Regions from separate parts of the Homo sapiens genome. Here regions 2 and 3 are each linked to region 1. The links are contacts of gene promoters, found by promoter capture Hi-C in blood cells and fetal thymus (Javierre and others, 2016). All regions are on one chromosome and are shown on one strand. The core of a region is centred on a gene start or on the middle of the fragment in contact, and the rest is flanking DNA. Distances in the headings are between cores, read along the strand shown. Region 1 holds the start of SYT13 (synaptotagmin 13). Region 2 overlaps TSPAN18 (tetraspanin 18). Region 3 overlaps TSPAN18 (tetraspanin 18).

Evidence for each region. Contacts are between HindIII fragments. The CHiCAGO score rates a contact against its expected background, and 5 or more counts as called.
Region 2: a fragment that was not itself captured here is called in contact with the fragment with the promoter of SYT13 in region 1 in 2 of 17 cell types (M0 macrophages and M1 macrophages); the score reaches 8.2 in M0 macrophages.
Region 3: a contact is called between a fragment that was not itself captured here and the fragment with the promoter of SYT13 in region 1, in 1 of 17 cell types (naive CD8 T cells). The highest score is 5.3, in naive CD8 T cells.

What each region holds. Positions count from the first base shown.
Region 1 is chr11:45,284,625-45,288,477 of GRCh38, forward strand. SYT13 (synaptotagmin 13) reads right to left here and starts at 1,717. Exons shown (of 6, transcript NM_020826.3): 1 at 1,401-1,717. The coding sequence starts at 1,583. RefSeq lists an enhancer at 1,112-1,898. The HindIII fragment of the contact is 1,062 bases long and covers 1,292-2,353 here.
Region 2 is chr11:44,919,339-44,923,001 of GRCh38, forward strand. TSPAN18 (tetraspanin 18) reads left to right here. Exons shown (of 10, transcript NM_130783.5): 8 at 479-661. Among named protein-coding and RNA genes, the nearest start is that of TP53I11, 30 kb to the right of the region's middle. RefSeq lists an enhancer at 3,460-3,663. The HindIII fragment of the contact is 5,797 bases long and covers 1-3,663 here.
Region 3 is chr11:44,894,015-44,897,672 of GRCh38, forward strand. All of the region lies in intron 3 of TSPAN18 (tetraspanin 18), which reads left to right. Among named protein-coding and RNA genes, the nearest start is that of TP53I11, 55 kb to the right of the region's middle. The HindIII fragment of the contact is 5,473 bases long and covers 1-3,658 here.

The DNA of each region.
Region 1 (3,853 bases), core at 467-2,966:
AGTTTCCCAGTGGTTCTCTCTAGGAAGGGGAGGGGGCGGTGCCTGGAGAGACATCACTGAAAGGCAGAAGAGTGGCTGTTCCTCAAGTGTGTTGGGCAGGAAAGAAGGTTGAGAGGCGGCCGACCACGACTTGTGGAGAAGGACTCCCAACACCTGGCCAGTGGAAAGCCCACTATTCCCCTTTTCCAGATCGTCCCAAGTCCCACATTCTGCTGTGCAGCCGGCTCCTATTTAGCCACTGTCAATGTCACTGTTCTTGGATTATAAGTGCCTCAAGGACAGCAGCCATTTCCTTTCCACTCTCACTGTACAGTGACTGACACAGGCCCCACACAACTGGGTCCTCTGAGCTTTTGAATTATTGATTGGAAAAAGGAAGATGGAGTCACAGCATTTTAGTGCCACTCCTGGAACCATACAGTCTATAAGGGATCTAGAGGGCCTTTAGGAGGTCCTTTAAGTCATGCCCCTGCCCCAGGGCCATCCTTCCTCAAATCACTCTAGCAGGACTCTTTGCCTCCTGGTTCTCCAGAGAACATTCTGCATTCTGTACTTTGGAAATGCATCCTGGAGGTCACAGCCTATGCAGGGAAATCCTTCCAAACTGCTTCCCCAGACCCCTTCTGCTGCTCTTTACAATGGGAGCACGGGCTATTTCCTGCACGAAGGGGCTCTGGCCATGAGCAAATGCATGGGATAAAAGCCCTCCTGTCTCCAGGGACGTCTGCAGAGACATCTTGGGGGAGGCCATACCAACCCCCTCTGACTGGCTGGAGCTCAGAGCTGCTAGGGGGTGGGGAAGAGTCCTTCAGGTTCCTCCCGGATTCAGCTCTCTAGACCCCGCTAGCTAGCTTCCCAGCTCCTGCGGGACCGCGGCCACCTCCCCTCTGGCTTTGCAGGCATTACCTCTTCTCAGCTCTGGCAGGACTTGCCCTACCCTGGCTCCACAACCACCACCCATCTCCCTCTCACAGACCCCAGTCTTCTTCCCAATTCTGCAAACTCCTCATTCTCTGGTACCTCTCAGGGTCTTCCCTAACCCTGGCGATTCCCCTCCCAGCCTCCCTCTCCTCTTACCCTTCCCAGCCCTAATTCTTATCCAGGTCCCCTTTCCTGTCCCCTCCCTTTAGGTCTCGCTGCTGGCCCCCATTCTTCTCTCAGTCCCCACAAGCTCGCCGCTCCCTAATTCTCCTTCAGGTCTCGTCTCCCCCATCCCCTAGCCTCCCCCATCCCCCTACCTTTTTGACTCCTTGACCTGTCCTCCAACGCGTCTGCTGTCCCCTCCCCGCCAAGCTTTGTCGCGCAAAGATCCACGACCGCCTCCCACCCCAGTTCCCCCTCTGCAGCTGCCCGGCAACCCCGCCTTGCCCGGGAAGGGCCTGCGCGCCGCCCCCGCTCACCTGTTGTGCAGACCCGAGCAAGCTGGGCTTCGCCTTCTCCAGGTCGGGGTCCTGGTCCCGCGGCAGCAGCCCCTTCTTGGGGTGCATGTGCCGACACAGGCAGGTGACCCCGCACAACGCGAGGATGCTGGTGGCTGTGCCCAGCGTGGCGCCCAGCGCGATCACAGGCACCGACAGCACCATGGTGCCCGCTCCCGGCGAGGGGCTGGGTCCCGCAGCCGCTCACCTTCCCCGGGCCGGGCCCGCCTCCAGGCAGCTCCCGGGATCCGGGCGAGCCAGCAGCTCTCCCGCCGCCAGAGGGGCGGGGACGGAGGGAGGGAGGACGGCTGCGAGGACGTCAGAGGAGGCTGGACCCGCAGCCACGTCAACCGGCAACCCCCTCCCCGCCAACACGTGACCGGACCCCCACCCCAACAGGAGCCGGAGCCTTCCAGGTGGAAGGAGCCTTGGGGTTGTTTCAGGCCATTCTTAATGCTTTGTGTACAACAGGGGACAACTGGGCCCAAGAAGTGCTGGAGCTTGCGGAGGTCACACTGTGTTAGAGGACAAACCTGGGCTCCAACCAGATCTGCGACTCTAGGAGTCACTTTCCCAGACTACTAGCTCCTTGCTCACCCTTCTACCCCAGCAGCTGGCCAAGCTGGCTGTAAAATTGGGTCTTCCGGGAGCTTTTTCAAACACAAAGCTGGAGATTTCCCAGCTCCCCAACCTGGGAGATGGTTCTTACAGGGAAGAGGAACAGGCCACAGGTAGAGGGAACAGATGGGATGTTTGGGTTGAGGCTGTACCTGTGTCCTGCTGAAGATGGACAATACAGCTGCATCCCCTTAAGGGTTGCCCAAGAGTTCACCTTTATTACCTAATCAGCAGGTATTCGCACCTTTATATATAGTTGAGGAAGCCGAGGCTCAGAAGAGAGGTGCACAGGTAGAAAAATCATCACCCTGAACCCAAGCTTATGTTTGCAGATTCCAAGTCCACACTCAAACGGACTTGTCTTAGGAGGATAAAGAAGATAAAATGCAGCAGCTAGGAGTACACACTTGATTCAGAGAGGGTGAGCATAAAACTATGCTTAGAACAAGGGGAAATTAGAATTCCGGGCATGAGGACTGTCTTAGCTCAAGAAAACAGTGGCTTTTTAGTGTTCTTCATTATATGGAGTGTTGAATTTAATTCAGCAGATATTTGCTGTGGGTTGGCTGTGCTCTAGGTGTGCTGGGCATGTGTGAAAAGGGATGTAGGTGATTTCATCCACAACAGAGCTTTCACATTTCTATGAGCCAATGTCTCCTAAATCTATAGCCTCTCCAGCCAGACCTTTTCCTCTGAGCTGTAGCTGTGACCACCACCTGGGAACCCACCCGTCCTCCAGTTTTTCAGCTATCTACACTTGCATAAAAACCCACCGATGACTTACTGGCTTAGACCAGTTATTGTGTTACTTGTCATGATTTCATGGGTTGGCTGGGCTCAGTTGGGTGGTTTTCCTGCTCAACATGTTGTCTTCTGGGACTGCAGTCATCTAGGGGTTCAGCTGGACTGGGACATCAGCTCTCCAGACACCATTGCAGATGGTGCAATGGTGAACTCACGTGGTGAGCAGTAGGTGCTGGCTGCCACTGGGATCACAATGGGGCTGTCAGCTGGTGCATTTTGGTTGTCCTCTATGTCACCTCTCCATGGTGCTGGAGCTGCTCACAGCATGCTGGCTGGATTCTAAGAGGAATGAAGCAGAAGCTGCCAGTTGTCTTAAGGCCTGGGTTCAGAAATTCTAGAACACTATTTGATCAAAACAATAGTCTCCCTCTAGTTCTTTCCTTCAGTGACATCAAAAGGAGGTGTCCAAAATACAAAGCTGATCATGTCACTCACAGCTCTCAAAGGTTCTCCAAGAATAAACCCAAGAGACTCAACCTTTATCCAAATCCCTTTGTGATGTGGTCCCTGCTAAGCCTTCCAGACTCCTCTCTACACACTTCCCAATGTGCCCCTGAGCCTCAGCCACCCCATGGACTTGGGATTCCTTCAACAAGCTAACATCTTTAGAGTCTCCATGTTATCACCCATGGGTGCATATAGCAGGCACTCAGTAACCGTGGAATAATTCATATGATCATCTTATGCAGAATTTCCAGTGTTTTGAAGGAATCCCATTTGTGATATGAGCTCCATTTTAGTAAACTGACTTTTCCACAAGTATTTATTGTGTGCCTGCTGTATGCCAGGCACATTTTCCTACTGATCCCCATTTGCTGCAAACTGTAGAGCTGAAGCACTGCAGTCCCTGGTGACAGCCTTAGCAATCTCTCACATAAGAGCTGCCCTGGGAGGTTTTCTTGGCTCCGGGCCTGGCAATGCAAAATGTTTTGTGGAAATAGAGGTTTAATTAATGCTGTCAGCTCCAGGTCTCCCATGCTCAAACGGCTGCCCTGGGAGACCATCAATGCCAC
Region 2 (3,663 bases), core at 374-2,873, 370 kb before region 1:
AACATTCAGAGCCACGATGCCCAGTGTTCACATGCCCACGCCAGGCATCAGTAATCAATCCAGGCACTCTCCCATTGATCACAGACCTGGCCTTGGAATCACCATCCACGCAGCATTCCAGGCAGCCATGCCACTTGATCACAGTCCCTACTCGGGATGAAACCTGTTTGCTCTCCCTGTCTTGGGTCCCCAAGCAATGGTCATTATGATGATGATAATAACCACAGCAACTGTTTATGGATGGCTAAGCGCCTGGTGAGGTAGGAATTGTTACTGCCACCTCTGTTATAGAGATGAGGACACTGAAGGCCCAGAGAAGCTGAGTGGCTTTCCCATGGTCACACAGTGGTGACAGGTGGAGCCCGCCCACACCCAGTCTTCTGATGCCACTCCTTTGCAGAGGCTGTATGTCCTTCTCTGTCCCCGCCCCTGTGTCCTCCTCCTGCCCACCAGAACCTTCTCTGGGATCTCCCCCTAGTTTGGTTGCTGCGGGGTCAACGGGCCTGAAGACTTTAAGTTTGCATCTGTGTTTCGACTCCTGACCCTGGATAGTGAAGAGGTGCCGGAGGCCTGCTGCCGGAGGGAACCCCAAAGTCGGGACGGGGTCCTGCTGAGCCGGGAGGAGTGCCTCCTGGGAAGGAGCCTATTCCTAAACAAGCAGGTACTGGCCCTGCTCTCCAGACAGGGGAGTGGGTCTATCGGGATTTGGGTGGCCAGAGCTGGGTGGGAGGCGCTATCACCCCAGAGGGTCTGAAGCTACCCCAGGAATCCCAGGGAAGTGTTGGCCATGATATGGGATGCCTGCACCTGAGCAGGGGCTGATGGAGGCTCTCTGTCCAAGCCCCTGAGATCCAACCAAAATGGGGAAGGATGACAGTGGCAGATGGTCTGCCGCTGGAGTGGGCATTCAGGCTGGGGCTAAGGGGTGAGTAGGAGTTTCCCGATGTTTCCTGAGTTTCTGATAATGCAGGTCCAAAGGGAGGGAGGGGGACAGAACCAGAATTGCACAGTGGGGGGCCCTTCTTAGCCATGCACTGTATTTTGGAGGAAGCTCTTATTTGCCATGTGGGGCACCCTAAGGGAGCAAGGTCTCCTTGACCTGACTCTCCAAGGTCAGAGAAGCTCCTAGACTTCAGGTTCTCTTGCAACCTGAGGACTTCCTCGCAGCCTTGGAAGAAACCCTTTCCCTTCCTGCACGTGCCATTTCTAGGGAAGACAAGCGCCTGGCTTTGTGTGCCTCCTGCCCACACACCCTTATGAGTTCACAATGCCCTTGCTCTTAATCCCCTTCTTCCCACTGACCAGCCCCCACTCTGCCAGTGTGGGTGTGTGACCAGGCTAGGCAGGAGGAGAGGGAGGGAGAGGACGAGGGTGATCTAAGCCTGGGCCCCAGCCCCCTTGCTTGAGTAGGACTTTAACGAGGGTCTCATGGAGAGTTCCAGATGCAAGAGACACAGCAGGGGACAGGAGACAAGGCCCCTGTTCCTGCGAGGCTCACGATCTCATTAGAGGACGCGCAAGATGAACAAGCAGCAAACTAATGAGAAGTAATCATTTCACATGGTCATGATTGCTGCGAAGAAATAAAACCAGATGAGGGGCTAGAATGGGCCTTGGGTGGGGGCTCAAGGCAGAACTTGCAAAGTCCCAGAGGAGGTGACAGTGAGCAGAGGCCTGGGTCCTGGGGCTCTGGCGGGCCCTTTCCAGCCTCAGCTCTGCCCCAGGAACTCAGCCCCTCTGGCCCTGGCACATCCCCATGGATTCCTGAGGCCCTGAGGGCCACGTTCTCTCTGTCCCTCATCACCCTGCCTTCCTGCATTGGGGGAAAGAGGCTCAATAGAGAAATGAGGGCCCTGAGTTGAGGCCACTGTGGACGTGGGGCAGAGAGACCTGCCGTGGGGAGCAGCTGCAGGGCGGGGAGGGGAGTTTCAGGCTTCCATGGCAGGCAGGGGTGGGCTGTTAACTGCTGTGTTGCCTTCGCCAAGACACCCTCGCTGGACCTCAGATTCCATATGTTGGCAGAGGCTGCTGGCTGCCCCCCACGATCCATTCACCCCTACTCTCTTGGGAAGGGAATGGTTATCACACCCCATGACCACCAGCTAGAGGCTGCACTTCCCAGCCTGCCTTGCAGCTAGACCATGTAACCGAGTTCTGGCTAACGGGAGGTGAGCAGAGGTGATTTGTGCAACTTGAGTCACATCCTTAAGAGAAAGTGCTGTGCCCACCCCTCCTTTTTTCTCTGGCTAGGACTTGGCAGAGGGAGGTGGCCCCTAGGATGGCAGAGCATCCAGAGAGAAGGAGCCTGGGCCACGTACAGTTCCATGGCATACAGCGGCCACCATAGCGTGGGGTTTATGTGAAAGACCAGTGAATTTGTAACTTGGTGAAGGAGCTGTTGTTTGAGATGCCCGTTGCCAACAGCCAAACTTAGAACCTTTTAATGCTACTTGTAAGTTTTCAGGAGGCTTCCCATGGGCCGCATTCCCCGCATCAGATGTGCTTCCCATTTCTGGACTCATCCTCCGTTAGGATGTCTCCTTTCCTCTCCTGGGCATGTCTTCAAAATCAGAGCTCATCAGAGAGGTCCCTGCACAGCCACATTCATTCTTTCCAGTGACTCTGTTGTTCCTGAGGGTCTGAGACTGGCTCCTGGGGTTTCTTTGCTGAGACATTCATGTCCCTCCTAGGCATTTCGTCCCGTTAAAAATCTGCTGCTGTGGAACTGTCTCTATTTGTCTTTTCCTCCAAAGCCCTCTTGCTTAAAGCCCAGGATGCATTTTTTTTTTTTTTTTTGAGACTGAGTCTCGCTCTGTCGCTCAGGCTGGAGTGCAATGGCACAATCCTGGCTCACTGCAACCTCCACCTCCAGGGTTCAAGTGTTTCTCCCACCTCAACCTCTCAAGTAGCTGGGACTACAGGCACATGCCACCATACCCAGCTAATTTTTGTATTTTTTGGTAGAGACCGGCATTTCACCATGTTGTCCAGGCTGGTCTCAAACTCCTGACCTCAAATGATCCACCCTCTTGGCCTCCCCAAGTGCTGGGATTACAGGCATGAACCACCATGTCCGGCCCTAGGATACATTTCTGACTTTGCTGGCAGGCCCATGGCAAGGATCTGGGAAGAGTTGAGTTCACTGTGGGGGTTGGGGTGGGGGTGAGGTGTGCAGGGATGCATGGCGTGGCCACAGGGACATCCTAGTTGCTCTGTGGCCCCCTGGTCCACATTGGTGGTGGACCTGGGTAGACAGGGGGCTTTTATACTGGTGCCAGTGAGAAAGGACAGCAGGTAAGACCAGGGTGATGGCGGTAAAGACAGAGAGGTGTGTGGATCTGAGAAATGTTCAGGAGGCAAAATCTACCAGCCTTCGTGATGGGTCCTCATTGGAGGAGGGGCAGGAGGAGGTGCTGAGTGACTGGCTTCTGGTTTGGGGACGATCTTGCATTCAGTCTGGGGCATGTTGCGTCTAAGAAACCTTTGGAGGCCAGGCACGTTGGCTCACGCCTGTAATCCCAACACTTTGGGAGGCCGAGGCGGGCGGATCACCTGATGTCAGGAGTTCGAGACCAGCCCAGCCAACACGGAGAAACCCCGTCTCTACTAAAAATACAAAAATTAGCCTGGCGTGGTGGCATGTGCCTATAATCCCAGCTACTT
Region 3 (3,658 bases), core at 1,159-3,658, 390 kb before region 1:
GAGTCCTTGAGGAAGGGCAGCCCTTGGTCCCTATGCCTTGGACCAAGCCCAGGGCTGGCGCTGTTGGTGCCGGGAGCGCAGGAAGGAGGGAACGGGGTGTGCAGCCTGTCAAGTCCTTTCACCCTCATCATCCCCTTGCATCCTCCTGGAAAGGATCCTAGAAGTTAGTTCTGAACATCCCCACCTCCCAGATGCGGAGGTGAGGCTCTGGAGGTGAGGCGTCTGGCTCAGGCTTATGGCTGGCACAGGCAGATCCCCCACTGGTGGGAACGCAGTTGCAGGGGAACACACGGTCCTCTGAGGCTCTGCCCTTGGCCACAGCGCCCTCTCCTGGCCAGGGCACGTGCAAGCCCTTTCTCGGCTCTGCACCAGCCCAAACCTTCCTCCACTGGGGGCTTCTCCATCTCTCTTGTCCGGCCGCCTCCTTTCCTTCTCTCTAGAAAGCATGCCTGGGGGCGGGGGGGAGTGAAAGTAAAAGGAGTGATTTATGAACTGAGCTGTTCTTCTTAATCAGAGAGCCCCTCCTGGGCCCCTGCTCCGTGCAGATGGGGCTGAGCCGCCATCTGGGCGACAGGAGGGGCGAGATTAATAAAGCTGTCTGGCCCGGGCAGGGGTCCGCCGAGGAAAGCCCCGAGGCACTGCGTGACCTCGGTCCCATCTCTGTGCCTTTCTGGGCCTCAGGGCTCCCATCTGTCAAGGGATGGCCGGCCTGGGCCATCCCCAAGGGCCTCCAGCTGGCTCAGGGAAGAAGTTTAGCCAACTTCCTGGGCCTCTGTGCCTCGCTGCCTGGTTCAGGGAAGAGCAGCACTGGGCTGGAGACTTTGCAGACTGGGGCACGGCGCTTCCTGTCTCTGGTGCCACACCCCACGGATAGGTGTCGTATCAGGAGCTCTGGTTTGGGGTCCAGCTGACTTGGGGCTAAATCATAGCCATGTTTTGCTAACCAGGTAAATGAACTCAGACGAGTTAGTTACCCTGCCCACGCTTCAGTTTCCTCATCTGTAAAATGGGATAATAATAATACCCACCTCCTAGGTAAGGATTAAATAAGAGGACAGGTAGGAGAAAGGTATAGTGGAGTCTGGTACATGGTAAAACCTCAATCCTAGTAGTTATTAGGCTCAGTTACCACAAAATTGTGGCAATTTGTTAGAATTTGGGTCTGTTTAGGGGAAAGATGTTTGTATCCACGCTACCCAAGCCATGTGTCCATGGTTCTCCCCTATACCCTGCTCCATTCATAACTGGTGAATGTGGGCTGGGCATCCACTTATTTCCAATATCTGATGCTGCTGATAATAATAGCTCCCATGGTACTGTGAATTCTTACAACCACCTTTGGCTTCCAAATTCATCATCACAGTTTTCCAAGGAGAACCTAGCACCTTGGAGAGGGGGGTGACTTTCCCAAGGTCTCCAGGGAGCTGGCCAAGGCAGAAACCAACCCAGCCTCTGCAGAAGCATCAGTGATGGGGTGAGCATGGCAGGTGTCACTGGGCTGTCCTCTTCCAGGACAAATGAGCCAGTCAATAGGATGGGGGCTCACAGAGGACAAAGAAAAAAAGGGAAATGAAGTTAGTTCAGGGAAGTTGGGACACCACAAGGGGTGAGCCCATTCCCAGCCAGGGTACAGCATTCAAAGGGGCTGGAGCTCCCTGGTGGGGAGGAGGCAGGCAACCGCCAGACATTCCCCAGAGTTCAGCATCTCCTCCTTGTCTCTGGGTTGGCCTATGTCATCCATGTTTCTCATATCAGCCTCAGTGTCCAGACGGAGATGAGGCAGGGAATGGTGATACAGGGGACCAGGACTGGGATGCAGCAGGAGAAGAGAAGCGGCAGGAAACCCATCACCCCGTCCTTGTTTCCCTGAGCCCTGGGGCTGGGCATGGGGTGCAGGCCCTGAACTACAAAGCTGGAAACAGCTTGAAATCTCCCGAGGATGCTTGGCCTTGTCACTGGCATCTCCAAGCCTCAATTTCATTCTGTAAAAACCACTCACCTGTGTGCCCATGGTTATTTGCACCTTGCACTCCCTGGCACTTCCCCGGCACATAGTAGCAACTCAATGTACATCTACTCAGTGGATGGTAGATGGCTGACTGGGTGGATTGAGGGAGGAAGGGAGGGATGGGTAAATGGGGAGGAATCTTTCACCCACCACCCCTTCACTGACCCCAGTGAACCTGTGGTAGCCTGCCTCGTGGGCTATTGTGAGGATTCATTGTGATCACACAGGAAGAGAAAGCACTTTCTGTAAACGCCACTTTTGACTCTGACCCCTGAGTTTGGATTCCAGCCCCATCACTTACCAACAGTGTGATGTTGGACAAGTCAATTCTCTCTCTTTTCCCATTGGACTCAGTTTCCCCATTGTACTGTGGGGATGATGGTGTGATACCTACTTCATAGGGTTGTTCTGAGCATTTCATGGGCTCACGCATGCCAGCACTGTACCCCAAGTGCACGGAGTACCTGAAGCTGGTGCACACAGATGGGGCAGGCAGTTGAAGGGCCTGTCACATAGGTATGTTTAGGCCAAATAGGGGTGCCAGCTCCCGGGGCTGTGGCCATGTCTCAGGAGGGAGGCCTCTTCTCCTGCCTTTCCATCTTCCCATCTCTACCTCTGCACTCCCCCAAGACTAGCCTTCACCATCCCCTTCCCCACAGTTCCTCTCCCCTCTGCCCAGAGTTATGCCGGTGGAGTTAGTCCTCCCCACTGTGGGTTCCCCAGCCCTGCTGTTATCTGCCTCCTTGTCTCCTCCACGCTGCCACCACCACCACCACCACTACCACCACTCACTTGTGTGCCCATGCTTATTTGCACCTCACACTCTCTGGCACAGCCCCTGGCACATAGTAGCAACTCAGTGTACGTCTACTGAGTGGATGGTAGGTGGGTGAGTGGGTGGGTTGAGGGAGGAAGGGAGGGATGGGTAAATGGGGAGGAATCTTTCACCCACCACCCCTTCACTGACCCCAGGCAGGCTCGTACTTGGAGGGATTTTGGATAGACATGGATATCTCTCCCTTCCTTCCCTAGGAACACCCCCACAGCCCAGGCTTCCCCAGGTCCCAGGTCTTCCTGGGACTGTCCTCTAACCCAAAGTTTGAGCAGGAGCTGGCTGTGGAATTCCCCGCAGGAGTGATAGAACAGGAGTCTCCATATGGGCCTGTTTTGACTTCTGAAATCGAACCCTCATTTCCACTGCTGGGAGCTGGCCCTCTGAAGGAACCTTCTCACAAATCCTTATGCAAAGCCAAGAAACACTTTCCAGCATCAAATCTCTCTCTCCTGGGAGTCTGGGTTTTGGGGGAGGAAGTTGATGAACAGGGCCCTGCTGGCACTCTCTCTGCTGAAGTATTGTGGATGCCTGGGTGGCATCCATGGATGCAGGTTACTCACACCCATCATCTCCTCCCAGGCCATCAGCCTCATGTGCAGCCGTGTCAGCATACATGAAGCCCATGCTAGAATCTGCAAGTCTATTAAAGATGTGCCTTCCAAGGCAGCACCTGCAAAGGCACCCAGGAGCTGCCATCTGGGCAGAAGGCCACTCCCCCGCTGGAGTGGCCTCAGGTGCTGAGAGCTTTTCATGAGCTCTAATGGGCCCAGATTAGCAGGACAGTTGCCCCGAGTGTGTGTATCTGGAGGGCGGGT